Regions from separate parts of the Homo sapiens genome. Here regions 2, 3 and 4 are each linked to region 1. The links are contacts of gene promoters, found by promoter capture Hi-C in human tissues and cell types (Jung and others, 2019). All regions are on one chromosome and are shown on one strand. The core of a region is centred on a gene start or on the middle of the fragment in contact, and the rest is flanking DNA. Distances in the headings are between cores, read along the strand shown. Region 1 holds the start of NUDT19 (nudix hydrolase 19). Region 2 holds the start of GPATCH1 (G-patch domain containing 1). Region 3 overlaps ZNF507 (zinc finger protein 507). Region 4 overlaps CEP89 (centrosomal protein 89).

Region 1 (2,511 bases), core at 6-2,505:
TACTTTAATCACCTGAGTGCCTTTCTCTCCATTGCTCTGTATTTTTATTTTATTTATTTATTTATTTTTTTGAGACAGAGTCTCGCTCTGTCACCCATGCCGGAATGCAGTGGCAGGATCTTGGCTCACAGCAACCTCCACCCAGATTCAAGTGATTCTCCTGCCTCAGCCTCCTGAGTAGCTGCAACTATAGGCGCGGGCCGCCACACCCAGCTAATTTTTGTATTTTTAGTAGAGGCGGGGTTTTGCCATGTTGGCCATGCTGGTCTTGAAGTCCTGGCCTCAGGTGATCCGACCACCTCGGCCTCCCAAAGTGCTGGGATTACAGGTGTAAGCCACAGCGCCTGGCCAGAGACCAGGTCTCTTCAAACAAAAAAACAAACAAAACCCCTAAATATTGACAATGTCATCTGTGGATTCTACCCAGGAAATAACCCACATTAAAATGATGGTTTGTGAGGGTCGGCAGGGGTATAGTGTATTTCATCCAAAAACATAACAAATGTGTGATCCAATTATAATAGCAATTATGGGAAAAGCTGTCGGTGACTGATAAGGAGTTATAAAAGAAAAGACTCAAATTTACACAGGCTTTTCAAAAGATCATAATCCTGCTATTGGAGGTGGAAGTCTTCTAGACACTAACAAGGTGGAGAGAAATCTCCATGTGGAGGCCCAGATTAAACATCTCCCATCAAAGTGGAACTCGTCAAATGTCCTAAGACACCTAAGGCCGTCCCCAGGCGCCCTGACAATAAAAGGTAACCAGAACACGAGAGAAATTACTCTGGGAGTACCTTTCACATTCAAGGTGTGCAGTAGGAAATTTATAAATTGGCATCTGGCTCGTCCATTCATTTCTCATTGGTGTGGTTCACGTGTGCTTGCAAAGGTCAGACTTCTGCCCTTCGAATGTCCTCTCTCCCTCTCCCACAGAAAACACCCACATGTGGGTCCTTGTTTAAAGCAGAAAGTCCTAGTCCTTAGCTTTTAGTGAGGTGGATGTCATCAGGCCTGGGTTGGCATCCTGTTTTTTACCATGGCAAGTCATATGCGCCCTTAAGCATTCCTGCTTTTGGTCCAAGCTTCCTGCGTGGGAATACTGCGGTCCTCCTTTCAGGCAGCTGTGAATGACAAACGGTCGCTGGCTGCCGTGACACCCATTGTCCCGCGAGAGTGCCCTAGCTGGGCCCCAGTGCACTCGAGGCGGTCCCTGCTCGGGTGCCCCTCCCACAGGCAGGCGCCGTTGCCGACCAAACGCCCAGGTTCACCCAACGCCAGAGGCTCGTCCTCAATTCCCGCGAGGCCCCCGGAGGTGCTGGGGTCCCTGCAGGGCCGGGCCACCTGCCGTGGAGCTCAGGCCGCGCCAGAATCGGATCCGGGAAGCTGCGCGCCATGAGCAGCTCCCTGCGGCCGGGCCCCAGCCGCTGGCGGCGGGCGGCCAGCATCGTCCTGGCGGCTGGCTGGTCGCGCCCGGAGACCGCCACCCCGCCGTCGCGCCCGCCGCCGGCCGAGGGCTTCCGGCTGCTGCTGCTGCAGCGCTCCCCGCACCAAGGCTTCATGCCGGGCGCGCACGTCTTCTCCGGCGGAGTGCTGGATGCGGCCGACCGCTCGGCGGACTGGCTGGGCCTCTTCGCGCCGCACCACGGGCCGCCGCGCTTCGGCCTGGGCCCGGCGCCATTCAGCCGCACCGCTTTCCCGTCGCTGCCCGACACCGATGACCACAAGACCGACAACACTGGGACGCTGCCTGAGGACGTAGCCTTCCGCATCTGCGCCGTGCGGGAGGCCTTTGAGGAGGCGGGCGTGCTGCTGCTGCGGCCCAGGACTTCCCCACCAGGCCCAGCACCCGGGCCTGGCCTCGCCCTGGAGCCACCGCCGGGCCTGGCCTCCTGGCGCGACCGCGTGCGCCAGGACCCGCGCCACTTCCTGCGGCTGTGCGCCCACCTCGACTGCACACCCGACATCTGGGCGCTGCACAACTGGAGCGCCTGGCTCACCCCTTTCTTGCGGGGCACCACTCGCCGCTTTGACACGGCCTTCTTCCTGTGCTGCCTGCGCGAGCCGCCGCCCGTCTACCCCGACTTGGCGGAGGTGGTGGGCTACCAGGTAAGGCCTGCTCAGGGCCTTGCTGCGGACCGCCAGGACGTGAGAGGGAGGACCCCTCCCAGCGGCCCAGGCCCCCAAGGGACCCCCGCATAGGCCAAGCCCAGAGAGATTAAGCAGCAAGGAACGCTTAGACGGGCTGGAAACTCTCACCCCTGTAGACCAAAGCCATGCTCTTGGTGAAGTGCTCTCTGCTTTCCTAGGCTTTGGGGTCTCAAGGCCTGGAGCCTGTCTCTCCACGTGGTTCCTCCAGCGTGGCCACTGTGTAAGCACTTGTACATGTGTAGACATAGTACATCTCCACAGCCGTTTAATTTGGTTTTCTTGGAGAACAGACTTAATATGATCCAGTCTTCCTATTTTTATTTATTTTTGGTACAGATGGGGGTCTTGTCTCTCTGTGTT
Region 2 (2,511 bases), core at 9-2,508, 390 kb after region 1:
CAGCCTGGCCAACATGGTGAAACCCAGTCTCTACTAAAAATACAAAAAAAAAAAAAAAAAAAAAAAAAAATGGCCGGGTGCGGTGGCTCACATCTGTAATCCCAGCACTTTGGGAGGCCAAGGTGGATGGATCGCCTGAGGTGGGGAGTTCGAGACCAGCCTGACCAACATGGACAAACCCCGTCTCTACTAAAAAAAAAATTACAAAATTAGCCAGACATAGTGGTGCATGCCTGTAATCCCACCTACTAGGGAGGCTGAGGCAGGAGAATCGCTTGAACCCGGGAGGCGGAGGTTGAGGTGAGCCGAGATCGTGCCATTGCACTCCAGCCTGGGCAACAAGAGTGAAACTCTGTCTCAAGAAAAAAAAAAAAAAAACCACCACAACAACCAACCAACCAAACAAACAAAAATTTAGCAGGGCGTGGTGGGGTGGACGCTTATAATCCCAGCTATCAGGAGGCTGAGGCAGGAGAATCACTTGAATCTGGGAGGCGGAGGTTGCAGTGAGCTGAGATCGCGGCCACTGCACTCCAGCCTGGGCGACAGAGCGAGACTCTGTCTCAAAAAAAAAAAAAAAAAAAAAGGGAATAACACCAGGGCCTACTTGAGGGTGGACCTACTTGAGGGTGGAAGGTACGAGGAGGGTGAGGATCGGAAAAACTACCTATTGGGTACTATGCTTATTACCTGGGGAGGAAATAATCTGTAACCCAAATCCCTTGCGACATGCAATTTACCTATATAACAAACTTGCACATGTACCCCTGAACCCAAAATAAAAGTAAAAAATAATAATAATAAAAATAAAGCGAAGCCCCACGGGGCGAGCATGAAATCTGGGAGCTCAGCCATTTCCCTGGAGGTGGCTGGGTGGGCGGTGGGAGTGGACGGGGCTGGGCAGTGACTGCTGCCAAGGCAGGGGGCTGGCGCGAGGGACGGGGGTAGGGGGCTGGGCAGGCATCGGTGTCGCCTCGCAGGGAACAGTTGGGTGGCTTCCAGCTTATGCCAGGAGTCTCCTCCTCACCCGCACATCGCGGGGCTAGGATGGGATGTCGTGGCTGCCAAATCCTCCGAGGCAACTCCTGCCTGGGACGGCCTACCACAGGATGGGCCTGAGAATCCGGAGCGCAGGCTCGGGCCGCTAGGACACCTTCCCCCGCCCGCGGACCCAGCCTTCCAGCATCACCGGGGTTCGCGGAGGAGAAAGAGGAAAGGCGTTTGGCCTGCCAAGGCCGCCGTAGCGAGGGGGCGGGGCCCGGAAGAGCAGGATGGCGGCGCGGGACAGTGACAGCGAAGAAGATCTGGTCAGCTATGGGACCGGGCTGGAGCCTCTGGAAGAAGGTGCGGGCCGCGTGGGCCGGCGGAGCCTGTGGAAAACAGGCCAAGGGCCCAGGATTCGGGCCACAAAAGCACAAGTCGGTGCTGGACCATTGTTAGATCGTTCCCAGCGCTGGGAACACGGCGACGAGGGAGGCGTTAGCCGCGCTCTCGGGGTGCTCACCTTCTGCAGCGACAGAGAGAGGTTTACAGGGACGGGAGACACAAGCGTGGCCGAACAAGGGGGCGGCGAGATAGAAACAAGAAAATGACGGAATAGCTAGTGTGAGAGCGGGGGGTGCTCAGGCAGTGTCTTCCCCGAGAGAGGACGTTTGAGCTCAGACTTGAAACCGAGGAAGAAAACAACCATGAGCAAATCTGGAGGGAAAGCATTTCAGGCAGAAGGAACATAAAGTGGCAAAGGCCCTGAAGTGGGAGCCAGTTTAGGAAATTGAGGGGCAGGCAGGACGGGTATGGTTGCAGCAGATGACAGCGGGGGAGACAGGTAGAAAAGAATGTCAGAGGGGCTGACAGGGGCTGGATCTTACTTGGTAGGGTAAAGAGTTTGGATCTTGTACTAAGTGCAGGATTAGGGTTAGGGTTAGGGTCATGGGAAATTACACAGGGAGGGATATATATATGATTTTTAGAGACAGGGTTTTGCTCTGTTTCCCAGGCTGGTCTTGAACTCCTGACTTCAAGTGATCCTCTCGCTTCTGCCTCCCAAAGTGCAGGGATTACAGGCTTGAGCCACTGTGCTCGGCCAATTTTTAATGTTATTCTATCTTTGATGTTGAGAATACACTGGTTGGGGATGGGTAAGAGTGAAGCAGGGAGATTAGCAAAAAGAGGTCAGGAGATGATGGTGGCATGGATGGGACAGCAGTGGTGGTGGTGTGTAGTGGTCTGGGTGGAGATATATTTTGAAAGCAGAGCTGACCATACTTGCTGGTGGAATGTGGGGGTGAGGGGCAAGATGAATCAAGGTTCTCTCCTGTGTTTCTGGTCTGTTCCACTTAACGACTTGACTTGTTCAGCAAGTTATGTATTGAGTGTCCAGTAAGGGCTGTTGGCTGTGCTAGCCCTGTAGGGAAGGCAGAGGAAGAATGGTGGAATCATTGGGCCACAATTTATTTGCAGACCTCCTGTTGGTGGGGGTCCCCTCCCTTTTTTCACCCTGACCACATCCTG
Region 3 (2,511 bases), core at 6-2,505, 330 kb before region 1:
TATGTTGGTGTCAGAAACCACAGGCGAATCCATAACTCTGATAAGCCGTACAGGTAAGTGTTATGATTCTAGAATTTTAATGTTTGTATTAAAATATTTTATATTAAAGAAATAAAATGAAATAAAAATGTATAGCACTTACTGAAACACAGGTTAAGAAGTAAGAAATTTTCACTAATTGGTTTTATATTTTGTTGTTTTATATATTTACTTATTTATTTTTTGAGTCAGTGTCTTGCTGTATTGCCCAGGCTGGAGTGCAGTGGTATGATCACAGCTCACTGCAGCCTCGAACTCCTGGCCTCAAGGGATCCTCCCACATCAGCCTCCCAAAGTGCTGGGATTGCAGGCGTGAGCCACTGCACCTGGCTGGTATTATGTCTTGTTTGATTTGTTAAGATGTGAACTTTAAGCTTGAATCTTAGGACAGTAGGCATTTTGTCTAGTTGATACATAGGAAATTGTCTTTATCTGTCAATTTTATGTTTTCATTTCATATGGGTATAAATTTCATAGCAATTTTCAATGCCTTAGAGTTCATTTCAGTAATTTGGCAGTAAGGTACTCAGTATTCAGCAAAAGATCCTTAAAACTTAAAGGCAATAAAATTTTCTATGAAAGAGTCCATTTTTCAAAATTAAGCTAGTATGTGTAGAATAAGTCATTTAATTTCATTACTTGATTTTTCCCAAAAGCAAATTCAGATATATATTTCAGAAAATATAGGCATTCTCAGTGATAGTGCTAGGCAATGCGCATGAACTTTCACCCCCTTGTCAAAACTTAGCAGGTTTAACTCTCTCCCCAGATTCTGTAGATATGATACAAGTGAGTGTGGGAAAGTTATTGTATTAATCTCAATGAAAACCTGACAGATTGTGCCATAAAAGGTCATTGTTTAATCCCAAAGTGTGGTGATCTGTGTATGGTTTCGAATATTTAATATGTGCTTAATTTGCAAACCAGCAGACTTACTTATAATCACTCTTCAGAAAGTACATCTGTTTGCAGAGTCTTAAAACTCTGTGGAAGGTGTTTGACCTTGCCTCAGTCCTCCTCAGTGTCTTCCTTCCTTCCTTCTTTCCTTCCTTCCTTCTTTTCTTCCTTCCTTCCTTTCCTTCCTTCCTTTCCTTCCTTTCCTTCCTTCCTTTCCTTTCTTCCTTTCCTTCCTTTCCTTTCCTTCCTTTCCTTTTCTTCCCTCCCTCCCTCTCTCCCTCCCTCCTTCCTTCCTTTCCTTCCTTCGTTTCCTTCCTTCCTTTCCTTTCTTCCTTTCCTTTCTTCCTTTCCTTCCTTCCTTTCCTTCCTTTCCTTTCCCTCCCCTCCCTCCCTCCCTCCCTCCTTCCTTCCTTCCTTCCTTCCTTTTTTTCTTTGACAGAGTCTCGCTCTGTCATCACCCAGGCTGGAGTGCAGTGGAGTGATCTCACCTCACGGCAACCTCCGCCTCCCGGGTTCAAGTGATTCTCATGCCTCAGCCTCCCAAGTAGCTGGGACCACAGGCATGTGCCATGATTAGCTAATTAGAGACGGGGTTTCGCCAGGTCTTGAACTCCTGGCCTCAAGTGTCCGCCCACCTTGGCCTCCCAAAGTGCTGGGATTACATGGTTACACCATGTCCAATCAGTCTATTTAATAGGTGGGACTGAGTATATTTACATTCGTGATTTATACTGGGAAATGTTTAGGAGAATGTGATGGAAACAGGGAACACTAGTTTACCTGATAGGAGGAGAAAGCTTTGCCTTTATATTTTTGGTATCCTTGAATTTAGACATACCGTGCCAGATTCATGTGATTTAAGTAAGAAGAAAATAACATTTCTCCGGGTCCAGAATTAGATTGTTCTTTCATTCATGGAGAAATATTTATTGAGCAAATATTATGCTTCAGGGGCCGTGCTAGATTCTTGGACTACAGTCATAACAAAACAGACGTCATCTTTGCTGTCATGGAACTTGTAGACAAACAATAAGCAAGTAAACCCTCAAATACTTAGGAAAAAGGTTAGCGATTCTAGTTCTGTTGAAGGTTTTACATCTGCTTTATTAGATCAGTCTTGCAGCTTAAAGATTCATTTTGATAGCTGTCAGTGTCTCAGGGATGTTTTCTTGTGTTCTTAAAATATTCACAGATTCATAGGATTCATTGCAGTTGTCCTAGGGTCTTCCTACCAACGGGCAACATCCCGTGAGCATCCTCTTTGTGTAACATCAGAGAACTCTCAGTCTGTTATTTTCCAAATTTATTCACACTCCACTTTGTCACTGGGTTTGGTGTGGTTATGCCTTAGATACAGTTTTGTCATATCTCCCTCTTTGTACTTATTATCAGTTTTTCCTCATAAGTCTTATTTTCTAATGTCATGGCTCTCCTTTTAACTTTCTTTAAATACTCACCATCCTTTGCCTTCATGGGATTTCTGGTCGCAGAGCATTACGGATTAACATGTTCTATTCCAGGATGTTTCTAGGACTTTCTCCTCGTTGTCCTATACTGTGTGCTTTAAGCGGAGCT
Region 4 (2,511 bases), core at 7-2,506, 260 kb after region 1:
TAATTTTTTTTTTTGTATTTTTAGTACAGATGGGGTTTCACCCTGTTAGCCACGGTGGTCTCGATCTCCTGACCTCGTGATCCGCCCGCCTCGGCCTCCCAAAGTGCTGGGATTACAGGCGTGAGCCACTGTGCCCGGCCAGTATCATGTATTAAATGCACTGCCTCCAAGTCCTTACCATAAATGTGGGATACTACAAAGTACACAGAAGCTAAAAGATTAAATTTTCCACCGTCCCATCTCTTTGTACACTTGGCATATCCTTCTAGTTTCTGTTTTTAGAGTTACTGCATACATATACAATTTGTCTTGTTATGAATAAGGGTTTTTTGTTTTTTTGTTTTTTTTTTGAGACAGGGTCTCACTCTGTCTCCCAGGCTGGAGTGAAGTGGTGCAATCATGGTTCACTGTAGCCTCAATCTCTCTGGGCTCAGGTGATCCTCCAGTCTCAGCCTCCCAATAGCTGGGACTAACCAAGCCCAGCTAGTTTTTGTATTTTTTGTAGAGACGGGGTTTCACCATGTTGTCCAGGCTGGTCTTGAACTCCTTGGCTCAAGGGATCCGCCTGCCTCAGCCTCCTAAAGTGCTAGGATTACAGGCATGAGCCACTGAGCCCAGCCTGTTGTTATTATTATTGTTATTATTATTTTGAGACAGAGTCTCACTCTGTCACCCAGGATGGAGTATAGTAGTGCAATCTTGGCTTACTGCAACCTCTGCCTCCCGGGTTCAAGTGATTCTCCTGCCTCAGCCTCCTGAGTAGCTGGGATTACAGGCACTCGCCACCACACCTGGCTAATTTTTCTATTTTTAGTAGAGATGGGGTTTCACCATGTTGGCCAGGATGGTCTCAAACTCCTGACCTCAAATGATCTGCACACCTCGGCCTCCCAAAGTGCTGGGATTACAGGCCTGAGCCACCATGCCTGGCCCCAGCCTGCTATTAATAAGTATTTTTATTTTTTAAATTGAGACAGGGTCTCATTCTGCCACACAGGCTGGAATGCAGAGGTGCAATCTTGGCTTACTGCAGCATCCACCTCCCCAGCTCAAGTGATCCTCCTACCTCAGCCTCCCGAGTAGCTGGGACTAGAGATGCACTCCACCATACCCAGCTAATTTTTTGTTTGTTTGTTTATTTGTATTTTTAGTAGAGAAGGGGTTTCACCATGTTGCCCAGGCTGGTCTCAAACTCCAGAGCTGAAGAGATCCACCCACCTCAACCTCCCAAAGTGTTGGGATTACAGGTATGATCCACTGTCCCCAGCCTATTAATGAGTTTTTATAGTCAACATTTTAAAAGGTAGGAATCCACTAGATATACCAGCTTAACCAGCCATTTTCCTTGCTTAGGTGGGGTTTTTTTCCTTCACTTTCCATTGTTGTAGATAACCCTGTAATAAACATCTGTGTGCAGATAACCCCTACTGTATTTAAGGTTACTCACATAAAACAAACCGCCATAGAGTAAATTCTTTTTTTCTTTATCTTTTTTATTTGAGATGGAGTCTCGCTCTGTCACCCAGGCTGGAGTGTGGTGGCGCGATCTCAGTGCACTGCCACCTCCGCTTCCCGCGTTCAAGTGATTCTCCTGCCTCAGCCTCCCGAGTAGCTGGGACTACAGGCGCCTGCCACCATGCCTGGCTAATTTTTGTATTTTTAGTAGACATGGGGTTTCACCACATTGGCCAGGCTGGTCTTGAACTCCTGACCTCAAGTGATACGCCCGCCTCAGCCTCAAAAAGTGCTGAGGTTACAGGCGTGAGCCACTGTGTCCGGCCCATACAGTAAATTCTTGAGTCAAATGGTGTGAACATTTTGTGTCTACATACATACTGCACAAAATCATTTCTCCAAGCTATAAATACACTGGTAATAATTTTCTAAAACTTGCCAAAACAACTTAAAACCCACTGTCTAAATTTGCATTTGTTACTGAGACTGAATGTTTTTCCATATACTTGTGTTCAGGTCCTTTGTCTGTTTTACTTCTGGTATGTCCATTCCAATTTGGTTCTTTTTTTTTTTTTTTTTTTTTTTTGAGATGGAGTCTCGCTCTGTCCCCCAGGCTGGAGTGCAGTGGCTCCATCTTGGCTCACTGCAAGCTCCACCTCCCGGGTTCACGCCATTCTCCTGCCTCAGCCTCCTGAGTAGCTGGGACTACAGGCGCCCGCCACCACGCCAGCTAATTTTTTGTATTTTTAGTAAAGACAGGGTTTCACCATGTTGGCCAGGATGGTCTCGATCTGCTGACCTCGTGATCCGTCCATCTCGGCCTCCCAAAATGCTGGGATTACAGGCGTGAGCCACCGCACCCGGCCTGTTTTTTCTTTTTTTATTTTTGTTTTTTTTTTTGAGACAGGGTCTCACTCTGTCATCCAGGGTGGAGTGAAGTGACAAGATCATACTGCAACTTTGACCTCCTGGGCTCAAGTGATCCTCCTGCCTCAGCCTCCCAAGCAGCTGGGACTACAGGTGAGCAACACCATGCCAGGATGATTTTTGTATTTT

Evidence for each region. The method cuts DNA at HindIII sites, captures the fragments that hold promoters and counts their contacts. A contact is called where the count stands out against the background at its distance.
Region 2: the fragment with the promoter of GPATCH1 here is called in contact with the fragment with the promoter of NUDT19 in region 1 in 4 of the 25 tissues and cell types used here (H1 embryonic stem cells, heart left ventricle, mesendoderm cells and 1 more).
Region 3: a fragment that was not itself captured here is called in contact with the fragment with the promoter of NUDT19 in region 1 in 1 of the 25 tissues and cell types used here (dorsolateral prefrontal cortex).
Region 4: a contact is called between a fragment that was not itself captured here and the fragment with the promoter of NUDT19 in region 1, in 1 of the 25 tissues and cell types used here (H1 embryonic stem cells).

What each region holds. Positions count from the first base shown.
Region 1 is chr19:32,690,566-32,693,076 of GRCh38, forward strand. NUDT19 (nudix hydrolase 19) reads left to right here and starts at 1,256. Exons shown (of 3, transcript NM_001105570.2): 1 at 1,256-2,109. The coding sequence starts at 1,396. It overlaps NUDT19-DT (NUDT19 divergent transcript), which reads right to left and starts at 1,731. Exons shown (of 2, transcript NR_186320.1): 1 at 798-1,731. It overlaps LOC124904690 (a long non-coding RNA gene), which reads right to left. Exons shown (of 2, transcript XR_007067226.1): 2 at 2,400-2,511. RefSeq lists a silencer at 1,219-1,628. The HindIII fragment of the contact is 18,784 bases long and covers 1-2,511 here.
Region 2 is chr19:33,079,923-33,082,433 of GRCh38, forward strand. It overlaps GPATCH1 (G-patch domain containing 1), which reads left to right and starts at 1,259. Exons shown (of 20, transcript NM_018025.3): 1 at 1,259-1,344. The coding sequence starts at 1,272. RefSeq lists an enhancer at 1,154-1,483. The HindIII fragment of the contact is 22,582 bases long and covers 1-2,511 here.
Region 3 is chr19:32,360,566-32,363,076 of GRCh38, forward strand. ZNF507 (zinc finger protein 507) reads left to right here. Exons shown (of 7, transcript NM_001136156.2): 5 at 1-53. Among named protein-coding and RNA genes, the nearest start is that of ZNF507, 16 kb to the left of the region's middle. The HindIII fragment of the contact is 4,607 bases long and covers 1-2,511 here.
Region 4 is chr19:32,954,033-32,956,543 of GRCh38, forward strand. The region is part of intron 3 of CEP89 (centrosomal protein 89); the gene reads right to left. Among named protein-coding and RNA genes, the nearest start is that of CEP89, 17 kb to the right of the region's middle. The HindIII fragment of the contact is 8,520 bases long and covers 1-2,511 here.